2 separate regions of the Homo sapiens genome follow, and region 1 is linked to region 2. Evidence: promoter capture Hi-C in human tissues and cell types (Jung and others, 2019). All regions are on one chromosome and are shown on one strand. Each heading gives the region's core, a stretch centred on a gene start or on the middle of the fragment in contact. The rest is flanking DNA. Distances are from core to core; before and after follow the strand shown.

Region 1 (4,728 bases), core at 590-3,089, 470 kb after region 2:
CCAGAAACAGGCTGGCCAGACCCCTGGGGGCTGTAGGGGCCAGCATCAGGGCAATGCCTGAAGCTTCTGCATGCAAATAGAAAGTTAATTTGGGCAGGAGCTGGGCTGCTCTCAGTCCTGCTGCCCTCCTGCCCGCTCTATTAATACGGATCCAGCTCTGCTGCCTGGCATCACTATTTATAGCCCAGAGGCAGCATGGCCACACCCCCTTATGCCGGGGAGGGTGAAGGGCTGAGGAGGGGGCAGAAAACACACAGCTATAGGGGCCCAGGCAGAGGATCCCTAGATGCCTACATCCTACTTGGGTGGGCCTGGGACTGCTGGGCTGGAATCCACTCAGACTCCCTGCCTCCTTCCCAGCCTGGACTGTGTGGTCAGGCTCCTGATCCCTACCACCCACGACCCTGGGTTGAGTGGCTCTGTCTAGACCCTGTGAACTCATCACCAGTAGGCTTGTTAAATGGCTAAATGGAGGGGGAGGGGCTTGACAGGGCTCTTTCTGAAACAGCTGTGGTTGTAATTAGGTGGACAGTGTGGTTGGCTATTATTTATTCCAGTTTTGAATACTCTGGGATCCTCTTCTCTGATTGGTGACTTGGCAGGGAAGGCTCCCTCTCTCTCCTTTAGAATTGTTGGTGTCTGGCTGCCTGGGAGGGCCTTTGTGTATGCCAGGATAGTGAGTGGCTTTATCCACTATGGTTATCTGCCATGGGCTTCTCAGCCTACTAAACCCCCAACCCAAGCAATGCCCAGGATCCCAGGAACAGGCTCCTGAGCTTCTCAGTAAGGGACCTGCCAAGGTACTCACGTGGCCTGGGATGCCTCTTGCCCTTGCGGCCTGCCTGAGCTGAACTGTCTCAGCGTCCAGGAATGTAGACTTCTCTGCCAGTCTTAGCTCAGACTGGCGTGAAGCTTGGGGTGCCAAGTGGCACCAGATTGGGTAGACAGGAGGCTGAGGCCGGGGGCCAGGGGTGTGGACAAATTGGAAGGATTGGTGGTAGAGAGCAACAGGGCTCTGGCTTCTCCCAACATAGTATCTTCTGCAGTAGCCCTCCAGCACCTGGTGTGGCTGGGAGGTGGAGTTCTGCTAGCTACAGTTAGGCGCCTGTGGGCACATCTGCCACTGTGCACACTCCAGGTGCCCCTGGCTACATTTTCCAGCTCCCACATGCCCTCCCCCTCCAGGTACTCACACTTCCCGGGCAGGACTGGGCTTGTGTCTACTGCCTGGGAATGTGCTTGGCTGAGGCCGGGCCTGGTGGCCTAGTCTTGGCCTGATGCCAGGGGAGACCAGGGAGCATGCAGAGGGTGCTTAGTCAGAAAGAAAGGTGGTGGTCGCTCCCTAGACTTGCAGTGCACAGCTCTCCTAAGGTCACAAAACAAGAAAGAGTGGGAGCAAATTCAGGACCCCCCCGGTTCATCTGACTGATCCATGGTTTTTCCCCTTGTTCCCTATCTCAGTTTTTTTTTGTGACCCTGGAAGTTGCTGCCTCTCAGACTGACTCTTCTACCCTTCTACCCAAGGGGCAGATAGATGGATCATGGATACAGGCTGGGGTTGGGGGACAGGTGTGTCTGTGTTCTCTGAACATTTGTGTGTGTGTGTGTGTGTGTGTGTGTGTGTGTGTGTGTGTGTGAGACGGAGTTTCGCTCTGTTGCCCAGGCTGGAGTGCAGTGGTGTGATCTCGGCTCACTGCAGCCTCTGCCTCCTGGATTCAAGCAATTCTCTTGCCTCAGCCTCCCAAGTAGCTAGGACTACAGGCGCACGCCACCACCCCCAGCTAAGTTTTGTATTTTGAGTAGAGACGGAGTTTCACCATGTTGGCCAGGCTGGTCTCGAACTGCTGACCTCAGGTGATCCGCCCGCCTTGGCCTCCCAAAATGCTGGAATTACAGGTGTGAGCCACCATGCCTGGCCTCTCTGAATATATTTTTACAGAGTACTTTCACATACACTGTCTTATTAACCCTACAAGATCAGTGGTATTGTCCCCATTTTTCTGATTAAGAGAACTAGATTCAGAGGTGAAGTTACTTCACCCAGAGATCTCACAGCTAGTAAGAAGAGGAATTAGGACGAGGACTCAGATCTTGGGACTCACTCACCAGTGCTTTTTCTACTCTGTCTTGTGCTGCGGAGCCCTGGAGGTGCCCATCTCAAGCACAGGCAAGGTCAGGTGTGGACTGTGTGGACTCTGAGAGCAGATGAGGATGGGTCTTTAGAGCTGAGGTGAGCCTGCTAGTGCTGTGAGGTGGGGTAACTTCAGTCCTGCCTGCCCTTCCAAGTGTTTTCTCTCTTTCTTCCTTTCTTTTTTTTTTTTTTTTTTTTTTTTTTTTGAGACAGAGTTTAGCTCTTGTCATGTAGGCTGGAGTGCAGTGGCATGATCTCAGCTCACTGCAACCTCCGCTTCCTGGGTTCAAGCTATTCTCTGATCTCAGTCTCCTGAGTAGCTGGGATTATGGGATTACAGGCGTCCACCACCACACCCGGCTAATTTTTGTATTTTTAGTAGAGACGGGACTTCACCACATTGGCCAGGCTGGTCTCCAACTCCCGACCTCAGGTGATCCACCCTCCTCCGCCTCCAAAAGTGTTGGGATTACAGGTGTGAGCCACCACACCTGGTCTTCAAGTGTTTGCTTTCTCTGCAGGCTGCATGTTGTGCCTGGGTCAGTCCACCTTCCTTCGCTTTAACCACCCGGCTGAAGCCAAGTGGATGAAAAGCATGATTCCAGCAGGGGGCCGAGCCCCTGGGCCCCCCTACAGCCCTGTTCCTGGTAGGTACCGACGGGGGCAGGGTGCTGGGTTGATGGTGTTCCTGCAGCAGTCCTCCTCCTTGCTCACTTCAGCCACACTTGGAGTGTTAGGGCAAGACAATACCTAAGGTCTGGGCTCACTGCCACCTGCCATGGGCGGGTGGAGAATGCCAGGCAGTGGGGCCACTGAGAGCTAACCAAGGCAGTGCTGCTTAGCTAAAATTGGGAAATTATGTGCCTCGAGGGATGGCAAGCTCTGCCAGCTTGTACCCCACTGCCCTGGAGGATGCCACTCAGTGTCTGGAACTCTGGCCCACTTGTGTCACCACAGGGAGCCTCACCCTCTAGGGTACCCTGAGGGGCAGAAGGAAGCATTAGGTTGAACTCCCTGTAAGCTGTGGTGGGGATCATGTCCTTGGGCCTCGCCCAACCCTCACTCCATGCCCTGCCCGCTGATGACTCAGTGGAGCAGCTGTATTTTGTGTGTGAATTATTGATCCCCAGAAGAGAATTGGTGATTGTTCTGGGGAACCAACACAGGCCCCCTCAGCCCAGCTGCACAGGGGGGCAGGAGGGGTGCAGACCAGGAGGCTATTATGGGTTTACCATCTCAGACTTTGCACTGGCATTTAGATGGCTATGGGGTGACAGGTGCTGGGACAGATGGACATGGATGTCAGGTACACCTAGTGGGGTGGTATCAGCAGCCTAAGTGGATAGCCTGGGGACCTGAAGAAAGGTGAGTGATCACTGGGATTATCAGTATCCATGGCATCCCCTCTGACTATATCCCACACAGTCTCCATAATTTTGGACCCAAACTCAGTCTTGCAAAGGCTTTCCCTTCTCTTTTCCCTACCCTCGATCTTTTCCAGTCCTCTGGGGGCTCAGAAGCCTGGGTTCCCAGTCTACTCCCTAGTTAATTTTACCCTGCCCCCACCCCAGCCTTGTCATGTCACTCCCTTAGCTGTTTGGGGCAGTGGTTCCAGGGACTCCTATATGGTTGACTAGTGCTGGGGCATGGCAAAAGCAGGCTCTTGCTGGCATGGCTTAATGGGATAATTGGAGGCACTGAGCTTCACCTCCTTGCTGGCAGCCTGGCTTCCAGGAACCAGCCATTAGCACTAGCTCCCTCCCCTGCCTCTGATTGGACGAAGTGGTGCAGCACACACCCCTCACCCAGCCCTGCAGGCTTTTTTCTTTTTCTTTTTTTTTTTTTACCCCTGGGCCTCTGGTTCCTACATTGGGAGGCCCTGACATCCTATTAGACTAGGAGCCCCTGGAACTTCTGGCCAGCTCTGCAGCAGGCGCCCATCTTCTTTGTATAATGCCTTCTGTTTTCTTTTTTCTTTTTTTTTGTTTTGAGATGGAGTCTCACTCTGTCGCCCAGGCTGCAGTGCAGTGGCGCGATCTCGGCTCACTGCAACCTCCGCCTCCTGGGTTCAAGTGATTTTCCTGCCTCAGCCTCCCGAGTAGCTGGGACTACAGGTGCATGCCACCACACCCGGCTAATTTTTTATTTTTAGTAGAGATGGGGTTTCACCATGTTGGCCAGGCTGGTCTCGAACTCCTGACCTCAGGTGATACATCCATTTCGGCTTCACAAAGTGCTGGGATTACAGGCGTGAGCCACCACGCCTGGCCTCTTTTTTTTTTGAGACAGTCTTGCTGTGTCACCCAGGCAGTTCTCAGCTCACTGCAACTTCCTGGGTTCAAGCGATTCTCATACCTCAGCCTCCTGAGTAGTTGGGATTACAGACATGTGCCACCATACCCAGCTAATTTTTTGTATTTTTATTAGAGGTGGGGTTTCACCATGTTGGCCAGGCTGGTCTTGAACTCCTGTCCTCAAGTGATCTGCCCGCCTTGGCCTCCCCAAGTGTTGGGATTACAGGCGTGAGCCACCGTGCCTGGCCTACGTGCCCTTCTTGAGGAGGGATATAGGATATAGATTGGAGGAGTCTAGTCTTG
Region 2 (4,669 bases), core at 379-2,878:
TATGAGTATTCTAACAAACAAGGGACTGGCATCCCACCACCCAGGAAGGTAAGCCAGAGGTGTGAAGTGGGGTAGTTTAATGACTGGCTGAGTTTGAATTCCTCAGTGATCCTTTACCCCTGCCATTGCCACCATGGGGACCTGGGCTGATCTGAGATGGGATGAGGGGAAGTAGCATGGAATGGCGCTGTGCCCACCCTGTGAAAAGGAGCCTCAGGCGTCACTAAGGCCCACTTCATTAAGGTCACTGTGAAACCAGCATGACATCTGTGCCAAGGTACAGGAGAAAACAAGGGTGTCTTCCATCTAGCGGTACAGAGGTAAATAAACATCCCAAGTACAAGAAATACTCTCTCCCCTCTTCACCACCAGGCACCAACCTGCTAGATCTGCACACAGTTTACATTCGCAGAAACAGTAGCCACTTCCCTTATAGGGTTCTGTCTCCCTGTTTTCAGCAGAAATACCTACACCGTGTGTCTTACCCAATGCAGGGAGCTGCCAAAAGCCAAATCTGACCAATATAAACAGGAAGAGATGCCGTTGCCAGAGATGGAGTCGGCTTACATTAAAGTCTGGCTATGATTTATGAGGAGATTACATCCTGGATGAATAAATATCATTCCCTAATCTCTTGGAGTTTGACACTCAAAACTCTCATGTGCATATTAATAGATATTAATAATGCTTCTTCCTCCGTGTCCTCTGGACATGTCTTCTCTGTCTCCATATTCACTTCAAAAATGAAGAGCCAGGAGCAGGTCAAACAGGTCTTCCCTACGGAATCTCTTTGTAGGAAGAGAGACAAGGCCGTTCCTAAAGGGCCTTGAATGATCCCGCAAGCCCCTCCAGCCCCTTCCAGCTTTCAGGTGCTGCTGTAGGGAAGGCAGTGGCTCCTGAGGGAGGTACAGGGCAGAGGAGCAAAGCAGGAAAAGGGCCCAGGAAGAAGGGGACTCCCCCACCCCCAACTGGTGCATGCCTGGTGCCTGGGAAACAAGCAAACGGCTCTGGGCCGGGATGGAAACCACCATTCCAACAGTCACACGTGCAACCCACCTGGTATCCCCTGCACTCAAGGCACGGACCCCCCTCCTCCAGCATCCTGAACCTCTGAACTCTGGAGACCCGCGCTGCAGCCCCAAGATCCAGCTCCAAATACCTGGAGCCGAAGGTGCCAAGGACAGCAAAAAAACTAATCCTGAGACTGGCGGGCTGATGGGGTAGAGAGGGACGCACACGGTCCCCAGGGAGCACAGCCTATGAACCAGGCAGGAACCAGGCAGGAAGCCGGCGGCCACCATCCTCATTCCGTGCCGCACTCCAAAGCCCACCCCATCCAAGGCATCTTCCTTCTCGAGTGTCCCCTTCTTTGGGGGTGGGGGGAGGCAAGAGAAGAGACCAAGCTGGGGCTGCCTTACCCAAAAGCCCAGTGCCCAGCCATCTCGCCGGGGCTTTGCCTCCGTCCCCAGCCCCGGGCATAGTCCTGTTCTCTCCGGAGCGCGCGGGGGTCGCGGGGATGGGATACTGGGCACAGCCGCGCTCTCCGCCCGAGGTCGGCGTTCGGCCACAAAGCTACCCCGGAGCTCTGCGCCGCCGGTCGGGGCTCGGGAAAGTTAGCGGGCAGAGAGCGAGAGGAGGGGGAGGGAGGGAGCGGAGGGGGAGGCGCGCTCGCCCGCTGCTGGGAGCCGGCTGCTGGAGCAACGGCGGGAGGGAAGGAGTAGGAGGAGCCGGAGCAGGAGCGGGAGGAAGACGGAGCGAGCGCAGCGGCGAGCGAGGCTGCGCCTCTGCTCTGGAAGCGCTCCAGCCGCAGGAGGGGCGGTGGCCGCCGCGTAGGCCGGGGAGCCCCCGCCCGCTGCGCACCCTGCCTGCCGCACCCCGCCTCGCGGTCCCGGAGCCCCGGGACCACGCCGTGCCCCCAACTCCCTCTCCAGTGGGGCTGGGCTGCTGCGGCTGGCACTGCAGGGCCGGCCTGCAGCCACCCGCATCATCCCATGCGCTGAGCTGCCAATTAGGAGCATAGTTCGGGGGGAGTAGAGGTGGAGCTTTTCGGTTGCTGGAAGACTGTTTTGCTTTGCTTGGGGGAACACGGGAAGGTTAGCGGCTCCCTCTCCCAGGACCGCCAAGGGACCGCTTTAAAGTCCGCAGCGGACGCTGCCGCAACGGGTGGGCGTGTGCGGGCTTGCCCACTGCAGCTTGCGCCTCCTCGGTGGCGTGCGACATGGCGCGCGTGCAGCCTCGGGACCCGCTCCCGCCACCTTCTGCCCCATCGCTCAGCAACTCCGGCGGTTGTTTTAGGAAGCCCGGAACAGAGCTTTCCCATTGCAAACTGCCCCGGCCCTCCCTTCCCCCACCCCCACGCCACCCCGCCCCACATTTCTCCATGGACCCCTTGGAAATCACCACGCTCCAGGTTAGGGAGCAGGTTGGTCCGCGCCTGGTCTGTGTCCTGCGCCCCATTTCACCCTCCCGCTGCACCCCTGCTTCTCATTTTTCCTACCTAGGCCGTCCCCCTCAGATGCTGCCTTTTCGCCCTCCTCCAACTCTCCTGTTTTCTTCGGAACGGCAGACTCCCTCGGCCTCCCTTTTGGGGTAGGGGTGGAGGAGTCCAGGGTGACAACCAGGTCAGAGGGCTGAGGCGAGGCTGTGAACGAGTAAGCCTTTTCCCAGACAGGCCCAAGTGAAAGAGTTTCACCTGAGCGGTGCTACTTGGGCTGGTGGTTCTGTAAATGAGTCGATCTCCTCCTCAGCACCTTTCCAACCATCCAAGACCCTCCCTGCATCACAGGCCCTCTTTACTGTCTAGGACTGGTCCGGACTGGGAAGCCCGCTCCCACTTCATGGTCTGACTTCTGCTGCAGGCACACCAACGCACCGCCTTCTTAACGAGGGGTCTCTGGGTGGACTTCGGCGTGATCACGGACCCCTTGAGGTTGCAGGCAAAGTGCTGAATGTCTGTTTGCTTTTTCAGGAGAGAGGGTCGCTGCCTTCCCTATAGTGGCACAGAGGCTCTGGCAGCGCCACCATTTATGACTGTATGGCTTTGAGCAAGTTACATGGTCTTCTGGGGGAGCCTCTGCTCCTCACCTATAAAATGGTGAATGCAATGATATTTGCCTCCTAGGCTTATTAAGAGCGATGTTACCCCTGGACCTGGGCAACAGAAGCCTCAGCCCTGATTTCTGGTTTTAAAGGCCCTCATTCTGGCCCTCCTCTGGCCATGCCCCTCACTGGAGAATGAGTCCATGGGACCAAGGGGGCAGGGCAGGTGGGGGCATGCACCTCCTCCCCTTCTAGACTGTACTCCAGGTATCAGGAACTCTGGAATTCCCTATTCCCCAGATCTGTCCTTTCAAGGGCTGGCCATATCAGGTGTGCACTCAAGGGCTAGAGCAGTGGGCAAGGGACAGCTGTATGCAGGTGATGGGGAGTGCATGTAACTTGACACACACCCTAGGCATGCACAAGAGCCCCTCTCACTACAGGACCAGAGAAGAGTGTGTACCAGAGAATGGCCTGAAAATTTCATTTTGGACATGGTTTTCCAGGTTATCATGAAGGAAAAGTAATTAAAGGCAGAGGATAAAACATCAATCTTAACACTTTGTTATCCTGATTAATATTTAGACATATGTATAATTTCCATTTGTACCTTTGCTCCAGGACTTGCAACATCAAAAGTGGACCTAGCTGTAAAGAGGGAATGAGATATTATTGCATGTAAAAGTGCTCAGCAGACAGCTAGGCACAGGATAAACACTCAGTACATTTGAACTTAAAGAGGTCTGTGGGCCCTGAGGCTAAGCCTCCCCATCTGTCTCCAGGTCCGCAGGCTTACCCTGTCCTTCCCCAGGAGGTCCTTGCACTAGATCCGCAGGGCCAGGCATACAAACTGACCACTTTATTTTTACAGCAGGGGTCATGTTTCTCAGAACCCTAGACTGAGGTGAGAGAGGAGGTGAGCCAAAGGGAAGGAAAGTGACCCCTGCCCAGAGCAGGGGGAGGAGAGGGACAGAGCTGCAGGGATATCTTTAGATCCTGGTGACAGGAAAAGATGGCCAACGTCCTCAGTGTCCTCTCCCCACCTTCCCTGCTACCTCACTGCTACCTCACCAGTTCATAGAGTTTGAAGGGTCCATAGGAAACCCTCATGCCTTAGGGATGAAGAAAGAGGCTCAGAGAGGTAGAATGTGTAACCCGAGGTCAGCTACACAGTTACTGTTAAAGTCAGCGTTAGAACCTCCCCCATTACTTGATTTCCCCAATCCACACCCCCAGCTTTCCTCTAAAGAACTCCAGGAGGGCTCCGCAGCTGGGCAGAAAGAGTGCTTGGGAAATGCATTAGCTTAAGGGCTAGAGGATTTTACATTTATAGAGCACTTTCCTCAAAAATTCTCAAAACCCTAGCCCATCGATCTAACTCAGAGGCTGCTACTGAGGATGCCAGGGGAGAGGGTGTCAAAAGGTCAGAGCTCCTTCTCTCTTACCTTTTCAAAACTATCTTTTCCAGGGGCCCTCCCTGATTTAGCACCTCTTCACCCAGCTCAAGAGTCCCCAGTCACACTGGATAGGGACAGGAAGAAACAGACACCACACCTTGGCTCCTGTCCCTTCTGCTGGAAGTCCCTTGGGGGAGGGCAGGGGTGGTATCTGGGTACACAGTCCCCAGCCA

Evidence for each region. The method cuts DNA at HindIII sites, captures the fragments that hold promoters and counts their contacts. A contact is called where the count stands out against the background at its distance.
Region 1: a contact is called between a fragment that was not itself captured here and the fragment with the promoter of SCN4B in region 2, in 1 of the 25 tissues and cell types used here (spleen).

The regions. Positions count from the first base shown.
Region 1 is chr11:118,622,282-118,627,009 of GRCh38, forward strand. PHLDB1 (pleckstrin homology like domain family B member 1) reads left to right here. Exons shown (of 23, transcript NM_001144758.3): 5 at 2,653-2,778. Among named protein-coding and RNA genes, the nearest start is that of PHLDB1, 17 kb to the left of the region's middle. The HindIII fragment of the contact is 8,405 bases long and covers 1-4,728 here.
Region 2 is chr11:118,151,195-118,155,863 of GRCh38, forward strand. SCN4B (sodium voltage-gated channel beta subunit 4) reads right to left here and starts at 1,629. Exons shown (of 5, transcript NM_174934.4): 1 at 1,419-1,629. The coding sequence starts at 1,479. RefSeq lists an enhancer at 2,247-2,747. The HindIII fragment of the contact is 20,039 bases long and covers 1-4,669 here.